2 separate regions of the Homo sapiens genome follow, and region 1 is linked to region 2. The links are contacts of gene promoters, found by promoter capture Hi-C in human tissues and cell types (Jung and others, 2019). All regions are on one chromosome and are shown on one strand. The core of a region is centred on a gene start or on the middle of the fragment in contact, and the rest is flanking DNA. Distances in the headings are between cores, read along the strand shown.

Region 1 (5,571 bases), core at 565-3,064, 150 kb before region 2:
CAAAAAACTAGCTGGGCATGGTGGCGGATGCCTATAGTCTCAGCTACTCGGGAGGCTGAGGCAGGAGAATGGCGTGAACCCAGGAGGTGGAGCTTGCAGTGAGCCGAGATCACACCACTGCACCCAGCCTGGGCGACAGAGTGAGACTCCGTCTCAAAAAAAAAAAAAAAAAAAAAAAAATTGGCCAGGTGTGGTGGCACTTGCCTGTAGTCCTAGCTGCTTTGGAGGCTGAGGTGAGAGGATTGCTTGAGCTCAGGAGTTGGAGGCTGCAGCAATCCATGATTGTGCCACTGTATTCCAGCCTGGGCAACAGAGTGAGACCCTGTCTCAAACAAAACAAAACCCACAAAACAAAAAAGAATAACCATTTATTAAAGTAGATACAGAACACTTGTTTGGCCAAATTTTAATACTGCTTTACATGTTTTCTGTTTGTGAAACAATTCGTATTACATTTATAACCAAAAATTTCAACTGGTACCAGATTGAATATTCACTGTCGAACACACAGTTGATAATCTTGAGGGGAAAATACATCAAAGGCATATATACAATTATAGAAGTTCTTATTGTACATGTAGCATGGAAGATACATTTTATGACTTTTTACATATTCTAGAAGACATTCAAATGAAGATAAATAGATTCAAACTGGTCGATAAACTGTTCAGGTGCTTTGAGGTCCTTCATTTTCTTTTTTGTGATAAGAAAATCCAGAATTATTAACGTTGAATTTCTCATCGTACATTCATCTAAAAACAGTAAAAAAACTTGTGAAGGGAGATTGTAGATTGGTTATTTAGGTGTTTTATACTGGCTTATTGTTAATTGACTGCTGGGGATACCTGCCAGAGAAGGAAAAAAAAATTGGAGAAAATTCCTCCAGTTATTTAAATCTGGTGAAGAAATAAAAGGAAAACAAACAAATGAAAATGGTTGCAAAGCCACAAGATGCTATGTCTGGCCTAGTCTGTTATGTCCTAATGATCATTTTAAGTGTTTTCTTTTTCAAAAAGGTAAATGTCCAAAAAGAAAGACACATTGTGTATGTTTTTTTCCCAAAATATAGATTTTTAAAAAATATATACATACAATATATAGAAGCTGAAATTATGCAAAACTAATAAACAAAACACCACAGTAGATTAAGTGGGTGCAGCATATAGATTATAAAATGTCCCCACAGCAGTTTGGGGGCTTGCCCCTCCCTTTACCTGCTTCATGATTTTATAATCACACCTAAGTATTATCAAGCCTGAAGTAAAGGCACTACTGATAACAGGTAGTGCAAAGAGCTCAGATATTTCTTTGAATAAGAATAAAATACTTTAAATGAGTAGATGAAAATGCAAAATGGCACATTTTTTCAACTCATTCCAGTGTCAAAGCTTAACCAAAAAATCTAAATATACAAATGCAGCCTGGAAATATCTTAGTGCAAATATGAAAAGTAACGGCATAATTTAAAGTTACTTAAATAAGGTATTGTGAGGGTAGGGGTTTTTCTACAAGGTCGGGGGGCCAATAAATGTAATGGCATCTGGTGCAATGTCTTCAAACGTAAAAATCAAGAAAACAAAATTCGAGGTGAAAACTCACCTACTAAATATTTATTATTCTAACTCATACGGGGAGACTAAAGGGCAATTTGTTGAAGATCAAAATATTTTCCTAGATTTGTTGACGGGGTTAAAAAATAACATGAGTTCTCCTGAAGTCTGCACACACAATGCTGGTGTTACGTTGTGTCAATGCGAGTGCGTCTGAGCAAGCCCAGTTCTCCACTGGAGGCTTCATCAGAAGGTTTCGTCGTCATTGCAGTTGGTGGCCCAGTGTCCAAACATCTCACAGATTTCACAGTATGGGCGTTCCTCACCCCGACTGCCATGGTGTGTGGAATGGGGAGGGTCCTCTGACATCTGTGCCTGGGTAGGACAATCCTCTGTGTCGTGGAGATCAAAGCAGTCACAAATGTCACAGAAGAGGCGAGGTTTCTTCTTGGACTGTTTCTCCTGATCATCACTACAAATGTTAATGTGTGAAATCAGAAAATTTATCAGAAGAAACTGAAGAGACAAGAACACTTGCAAAAAATTTAAAAATTAAGCAAGAACTAATTATGGCCAAGTCTGTGAGCTTCCAGTATAAGTAGTGCATTATCCCACATTTAAAGTATTTTTTTTATTTTTGAGATGGAGTCTCAGACTCTCACCCAGGCTGGAGTGCAGTGGCATGATCTTGGCTTACTGCAATCTCCACCTCCTAGGTGAAAGCAATTCTCCTGCCTCAGCCTCCCAAGTAGCTGGAATTACAGGTGCGTGCCACCCCACACAGTTACTTTTTTGTATTTTCAGTAGAGATGGGGTTTTGCCAAGTTAGCCAAGTTGGTCTTGAACTCCTGACCCCAGGTGATCTGCCCACCTCGGCCTCCCAAAGTGCTGGGATTACAGTCGTGGCCACCACGCCAGCCTCACATTTAAAATCTTCATGTCAAAGCATTTGTAGTCTCCTCTCACTCACTTGCCAGATTTATGGAAATCTATTTATGGCAAAGGAACCACAAAACATTTGTTTTTTTTTGTTGCGTCTTTTTACAATCCCCTAGAGAAGCTCACTTTAAAAACATATTTATTTTGATGAAACTAAGGTTCCAATCAGTATGGTTTTTTTTGAGACAGGGTCTTGCTCTGTCACCCAGGTTGGAGTACAGTGGCGCAATCTCGGCTCATTGCAACCTCCAGCTCCAAGGCTCAAGTAGTTCTCCTGCCTCAGCCTCCCAAGTAGCTGGGATTACAGGCATGCAACACTACGCCTGGCTAACTTTTGTATTTTTAGTAGAGACGAGGTTTCATCGTGTTGGCCAGGCTGGTCTCGAACTCCTGACCCTCAAGTGGTCCGCCCGCCTCGGCCTCCCAAAGTGCTGGGATTATAGCAATCAGTATGTCTTCATATGAAATACCTGTCATAATTGTTTAGGTCATCCCCGTTCCCATTCAGGGCTGCTTCTGACATCATCTCCACCTTCATCTTGAGGTCTTGATTCTTCCTTTGAAGGTCCACTATTACTGAATTTAGGAAATCAATCTGATTTGTTAAAAAAAAAATGTGTAAAATGTCAAGAATATATATAAGCTGGAGCATCAAGAAGTCATGAAGTTTATACCTTTAAGCTCTGGCGGCAAAGTGTGCAGAAGGGGCCAACAGCGGCTATTAGGAACCCATGCTTTTCACTCTCCCGGAGGACAGGCATGCTGAGATTGTGTGAGTAAAGAGCTGAACTTAAATGAGGCCATGTCTAGGTGGTAAGGCTATGGCAGTTTCTTTTACCCCCTCACACCTTTCAGATTTCTTCAAATGTTCATTACTGAGGAGATGCTATTTTATATTTTAAAAAAAAATTTAAATTACACTTCATTGAATGTTTCTAGGTATAACATGGGTAAACTTCATTTGTTTTGTTTTGTTTTTTTTTTTTTTTTGAGACGGAGTCTCGCTCTGTCGCCCAGGCTGGAGTGCAGTGGCAGGATCTCGGCTCACTGCAGCCTCTGTCTCCTGGGTTCAAGCAATTCTACTGTCTCAGCCTCCTGAATAGCTGGGATTACAGGCATGCACCACCATGCCTGGCTGATTTTTGTATTTTTAGTAGAGACGGGGTTTTGCCATGTTGGCCAGGATGGTCTCAAACTCCTGACCTCAGGTGATCCACCCGGCTTGGCCTCCCAAAGTGCTGGGAATACATGTGTGAGCCACGGTGCCAGGCCATGAATTAATTAATTATTTTATTTATTTATGAGATGGAGTCTTGCTCTGTTGCCCAGGCTGGAGTGCAGTGGCTCGATCTCGGCTCACTGCGACCTCTGCCTCCCGGGTTCAAGTGATTCTCCTGCCTCAGCCTCCCGAGTAGCTGGGACTATAGGCACGTGCCACCAAACCCAGCTAATTTTTGTATTTTTAATAGAGACGGGGTTTCATCATATTGTCCAGGATGGACTCAAACTCCTGACCTCGTGATCCGCCTGCCTCGGCCTCCCAAAGTGTTGGGATTACAGGCATGAGCCACTGTACCCAGCTGAAATTATTCCTAAACATCTAAATCTGTGGGTTGGTGGAGTGCTATTGATTCATGAAAAAATATAAGAAACATTTTTTTAAATAGGAGAAAAAAATCTTGCATTCTCCAGAAGTCATAATCTTATATTTCTGAATATATGGGCACAAGTTTGTTTTCATTCTACCACATAAAAAATATTGGCCAGGCGTGGTGGCTCACGCCTGTAATCCCAACACTTTGGGAGACAGAGGCAGGCGGATCATCTGAGGTCAGGAGTTCAAGACCAACCTGGCCAACATAGTGATACCCTGTCTCTAGTAAAAATACAAAAATTAGCTGGGTGTGGTGGCTTACGCCTGTAGTCCCAGCTACTCAGGAGGCTGAGGCTGGAAACTCGCTTGAACCCAGGAGGCGGACGTTGCAGTGAGCCATGACTACGCCACTGCAGTCCAGCCTGGGCAACAGAGCAAGACTCCATCTCAAAAAAGAAAAAAATACACACACACACACACGCGCACACACACACACACACACACACACACACAAAATGCATAAAAAGGTTAGTTCTTCCATTAAACTCTACAATCCATCCAGGACTTTTCTGTTCGGCAGATTTGAAAAAGTCACATGGAAATTTCCTTCAGACTCTCATTTATCAACTGACTGATAATGGTGGAGCAATAAGTAAACATGTCCTCAGGGAAAATGGAGAAGGCTAAAGCTCCCTCCCAACCTAGGAGAGACAGCCAGGCACGCCAACAAGGCGGTGTTCAGGTACCACCCAGAGGGAGAGTGCCCATGCCAAGAGCTGGGGCAGTGGGGACAACAAGATGGCCAACAGGAGGGACCGCTCTTATCCTGAACATTTCCTTTCAATCAAAGGGCATTTTGACTTAAAAACAAAAAATTTCTTCCTTCTACAAATAATGAAAAGTCTCATTTCTCTAAACTGAAAGATCCCACTTTACAATATTTAAAATATATATAGATATACACACACATATACATAAATATTTTACTTTTTAAAGAAATATTTGGTCTTTTTCTCCTGCTGGGGAGTTATGAACAAAGTTAGCAATCACTGCAGTCTTTCTCTGCAGCATATCCCAGCATCATGGAGGCCACCTCTGAAGGCAGACCTACTGAGTCTACCTTCACTTCTCAACGTGCATTTTCTAAGTCATTATCGTGTTAAGAGCTCCATTTCAGGAAGAAGAAAAAGCCACAAAATGGACATAAGTATAGTGGGAAACCACACACACACACACACACACACGTGTGCACGCAAATTAGGAAACATGAAACGAACCATTTGCTGATTGGAAGAAAAGTGTTGTCAGCAGCAGATGAAACAAACCGAAGCAGAAAGGAAGGGGGAAGAGAAGACACTGTTAGTTATTAAGCCCAGTAGACATACAAAGAGGACAATGCTAATCCATGGTAAGTTTGTACAGTGTTGAATCGTTTTGTGCCCCTCAAAGGAGGTGTCTGGCAACTAACATCTCAAGGTGAGTTTTTCT
Region 2 (4,864 bases), core at 2,210-4,709:
AAAATACAAACATTAGCCAGGCATGTGACAGATTCCTGTTGTCCCAGCTACTTGGGAGGCTGAGGTGGGAGAATCACTTGAACCAGGAGGCAAAGGTTGCAGTGAACCAAAATTGCACCACTACACTCTAGCCTGGGCAACAGAGTGAGACTCTGTCTCAAAAAAAAAAAAATTAATTAAAAAAAAATAAGAAACGTTTACTGAGTACATGGAACTCCACAGAATTCTGCAAGGGTCCCGAAATGTGAAGACCCTGGCCTTGATATATCTATTCAAGGAAGACCAGAAATCTACCTGTAAGTAATAACGAAGAACCAGGTGCCCAGTATGTGAAAGGTTCAAAGGTGCCTACCTTTGTATGGGCCATAAGAGAATCAACTCATCTCTTATACACCATCCACTGGCTTTCGAATCCCAGCAGACAGCACTTAAAAAGCAAGAATCGGCCGGGCACAGTGGCTCATGCCTGTAATCCCAGCACTTTGGGAGGCCGAGGTGAGAGGATCACTTGAGGTCAGGAGTTCGAGACCAGCCTGGCCAACATCGTGAAACCCTGTCTCTACTAAAAATACAAAAACTAGCCCGGTGCCGTGGTGTGTGCCTGTAATCCCAGCTACTCGGGAGGCTGAGGCAGGAGAATTGCTTGAGCCTGGGAAGCGGAGGTTGCACCACTGCACTCCAGCCTGGGCAACAGAGCGAGATGCGAGACTCTGTCTCAAAAAAAAAAAAAAAAAAAAGCAAGAATCAAACATGACTGAGTTAGTTCATGTCCCTTATGAGTCACATGGGATGTGACAGAGTGAATTTTAGCCACTAGGTAAAAAAAATTTTTTTTAAGATAAGGACATCAGGCCAGGCGTGGTGGCTCACACCTATAATCCCAGCACTTTGGGAGGCTGAGGCAGGCGGATCACCTGAGGTCAGGTGTGATCAGCCTGGCTGGCCAACGTGATGAAACTCCATCTCTACTAAAAAAATACAAAAAATTAGCCAGGCATGGTGGCAGGCACCTAAAATCCCAGCTACTCGGGAAGCTGAGGCAGGAGAATCGCTTGAACCCAGTAGGCAGAGGTTGCAGTGAGCCGAGATCACTCCATTGCACTCCAGCCTAGGCAACAAGAGTGAAATTCCATGTCAAAAAAAAAAAAAGAGATAAGGATATCAGATTCTAAACTCCTCAATAGGACAGAAACCAGATTAGCTTATGTCATGCTGAAGTGCAAGCTGGAGCTGAAGCAATGATTGAAAAAATAGGGAAGGGCAAAATCTTGATCTTCAGGCAAAATACCTACCCAGGGTCCCACCCGGTTTCAGTTTTCCCCTTTGAACTAGGTCTAGTGGGAAGATGTACTTAACTGCTTTCTCTGAACCTTAAAAATCGGGCACAAGCCTTTGGCCAAGCAATTACCCACTTCAACTTTGCTTTAATGTAGACCAGCCTTGGGGCCAGGTGCGGTAGTTCACACCTGTAATCCCAGCACTTTGGGAGCCCAAAGCAGGTGGATGACTTGAGCCCAGGAGTTCGAAATCAGCCTGGGCAACGTGGTGAAACCCCATCTCTACCACAGATACAAAAATTAGCCGGGCGTGGTGGCGGGCACCTGTAATTCCAGTACTCAGGAGGCTGAGGCACGAGAATCGCTTAAACCTGGGAGGCCGAGATTGCAGTGAGCTGAGATCACGCCACTGCACTCTGGCCGGGGGGACAGATTGAGGCTCCCTCTCATTGATTGATTGATTGATTGATGGATGGATAGACAGACAGACAGACTAGCCTTGCTTTTTGCCACAGATTCCCTATACTAATCGAATAACTAAGCACCTGAAGTCAGAATACCTGAGTTCACATGCTGGTAAAAGGTATTCTGACTTCAGGTGCTTAGCTGTATAACCCTGGTCAAGTTACTTGACCTTTCTATGACCCTCCTGCCGAATGCACATGACGACAGCACGCTCACTGGGTTAGGGTTGATTAAATGAAATAAAACACATAAAAAGCTAGCCCAGAGCCTGGCCACAAGATGCCTTCAATAAATGTTCATTGTTATAATTTACAGAGAAAAAAAGGCCCCAAGTCTGAGAAGCGACATGCCTGGGGATTCTTGCTAAAGGTTATCATTAAATCTAAAAGTCAAACAAACACATTCCTGACTCTGGGATACTCTCCTGATTCGTGGATACCATCGCTAACAGTAGTGACACAAATCAAATAATAAGAACAGCCAGAATCATAACCCTAATGACAGCAGTGGCCACAGCACTTAATACTTATAGAGCTGCTAGGGGCCACTGTCCTAAAAGAGGAAGAAGGCCAGGCTGCTGAATCACACACACACAATTACAGAATCTTCTCCACCCTTTGTTTTAAAAAACAGTTCACTGGCGCCCAAGTTTTGCTAAAAACAGGTATCTAAACCGATGACGGACAACGTGTAATTTCTTCATACCAAAGAGGTGGGGCTGTGCAGGGAGGAGGGGGTGGCGCTCGGCTCCTGCCAGATGGAAAAGCCACATGAAGTGGAGAAACAGCCGGATTCAGGATTCACCCCCGAATCAAAACCCGATTTTTGAAAGGCAGGACCTTCCAATTCGGGCAATCGCTAGGTTCTGCTTGTAAAATAACCTCTGAACAAGTGTCATCTGCCTTCCGCGCCAATCCCCTGCCGCGGTAGAAGGTTCGGATTACCGGGCAGCGGTGTGATTTCGGAAACCCGAGAGCGATCTGGCCACCTCCAGCCTTCCCCGGTCTCCGAGAATCACAGCCCCACTTGAGAGGAAAACAAAAGCCGGGGCAGCGGGGGAGGCCGGGCCAGGGTGCCCTCCATGCCGGATCGCGGGCGCCGGGCACCCGGGGCCTGAGGAATGCTCAGGTGACAGGCGCGGCGCCCGGGGCAACAGGTCCCGCCCGGCTTCGGCCTCCCGGGGTCCGGCCGATCCCACATCCGCCCCGGGGCCCAGGAGAGGGAGCGGGGCGCCAGGGAGAGAGCGGCGCCTGGGGCGGCGCAGGGGCAAGGAGTCCAAGCTCCATCTTGAGGCGGGCGGAGGAAGCGAAGGCCCGGCTCGGCGCTGACAGGGCCGCCACTTTTCCAGCTCCGGAGGAGCCCCCCAGGGACCCCCGGCCTCCGGCGCCGGCCACCCGAGACTCCCGCGGTCCCCTCCCGGACGGCTCCGGCGCGCGAGGCTCGGCCCCGCTCCCGGACGCCGGGCTTCGACCCCCGACCCGACCCTGGGCGGGCCCCGCAGGCCGGGAAGCCGGCAGGGGAGCAGGGGGTGCCGGGAAAGGGAGAGGGCCCGCGCCGCCCCCTGCTCACCTCCTCGGACGCCGCCGGTCGCCGCCACCTGTCCCACTGCAGCAGCAGCAGCCGCCGCGGCCGCCGCCTCCCGCCTCCCGGCTCGTCGGCTCGGGGCGGGGGAGAGCGTGACGCGCCGCCGCCGCCGCGGGGCCGGGCGGGCGCGCGCTGCCAGGAGAAGACGCCGCGCGGCTCCTCCCAGCGCTCCGCCGCCGCGCCCGCCCGGCCGGCCCGGCCGGCCCGGCCCCTCGAGTCCGCACCGGCCCTGCGGCCCGCGCCCGGCCCCGCGCCGCCCCGCCGCCTCTTTGTCTGCGCCCACCGCGGCCCCGGGAGGACCCTGGCCCCGGCGCGCCCGCCGCTCCGCCCTCGAACCCTCCCGAGCCCCGGCTTGGGGAGCAAGGTGCGAGGGAAAACCCACAGGCCTGCTCCGAGGGGCTTCTCGTCATTTCTGCAAAGTGTTCCCAGAATTTGCAAGTCACACCCAAGAGCCCCATTCAGCCTCGACCTCAGCCCGCTCTTTGGGGCTGATTCATTTGTTTGCCCTCCCCTTCCCGCCAGACAAGGGTGAGAAATCCTTTGAAACAGGCTGCAAGGCGCTTCCGAAGCAGGTTAAGTTGGGGATTGGGAAGGATCATCTCTGCCCTCGCCTCCCTCCAGGGAAAGACCCTGGATGAGGCGTCCCTGGAGAAAATGCTGAAAGGAACTGTAGAGCAGGTTAAGCTTGGGAAGAACTGTATCTGCTCCCCACTTCCCTCCGGGAACGACCGCGGGTTAAAAATCCTTTGAAACGATCCCAGGGTTTGCTCCGTTCGTTTGAGAAAAGCCCCTTTTATTCGCCCTGGCTGCTTGGACGGAAGCCCTGGTTAGTGTCCCATCCTCCTTCCCCCCTGGGATTTCCTTTAAAAGCTTTTGAAAGGGACAGGAGGGAAGGCTGCAACAGCCTGCTCGGGGCTGGGGTAGCAGAGGGCGGCCAGCATTTCACTCCCATGGACCATGGCAACCCCAGAAGCCTTACATCTCCAGGGAGGAATTTGCAGCTGTCGGGGAAGCCCAGGATTTTGTGGTGGATAAGGGGGCAGGGGCTTCCTCCTCCTTGCCAGTAGAAGAGAATAATCGGCGGGTGACCCCTCTAGCTGACCTTTATTCAAAGCACCGTGCTGCCTGGACCAGCAGGAAGAGGGAACTGCTCTGGTAATGCACGAAGTTCTGAACTATGTAAATTTGTCTCCTGGCCCCTCCTCTCCATTCATGTCTGAAATCCCTCGAAATGCTGTTACCTAATTCAACATCGCCCTAATTTACAGGCTGCAAGGTCAGGTGGTGGTGGTACTCCTGAAATCCCATATCCATATTCCTAATCTGAAAGGCGCGCCTCACCCCCTAATCTAAACAGTCTTCAGCTGTAATCAGCAAGCTGTGGAATCATAGATGTCATAGGATGAGGCACAGACCACTTCTAATGGGGGAGTTCAGCTAGGAACACTTATGGGCTTGTCTTTTCTTCTCTACTCAGTAGGCTGAGCCTGTCTTTATTAAAAATATTGTTTTGGGGCTGGGTGTGGTGGCTCACGCCT

What was found. Contacts are between HindIII fragments. The study calls those that stand out against the background at their distance.
Region 1: a contact is called between a fragment that was not itself captured here and the fragment with the promoter of CLIP1 in region 2, in 1 of the 25 tissues and cell types used here (liver).

Annotation. Positions count from the first base shown.
Region 1 is chr12:122,271,079-122,276,649 of GRCh38, forward strand. CLIP1 (CAP-Gly domain containing linker protein 1) reads right to left here. Exons shown (of 26, transcript NM_001247997.2): 25 at 2,960-3,084; 26 at 391-2,022. The coding sequence ends at 1,797. Among named protein-coding and RNA genes, the nearest start is that of VPS33A, 7.4 kb to the left of the region's middle. The HindIII fragment of the contact is 5,788 bases long and covers 1-4,708 here.
Region 2 is chr12:122,419,210-122,424,073 of GRCh38, forward strand. CLIP1 (CAP-Gly domain containing linker protein 1) reads right to left here and starts at 3,460. Exons shown (of 26, transcript NM_001247997.2): 1 at 3,312-3,460. RefSeq lists silencers at 2,757-3,156, 3,177-3,526 and an enhancer at 4,636-4,735. The HindIII fragment of the contact is 23,258 bases long and covers 1-4,864 here.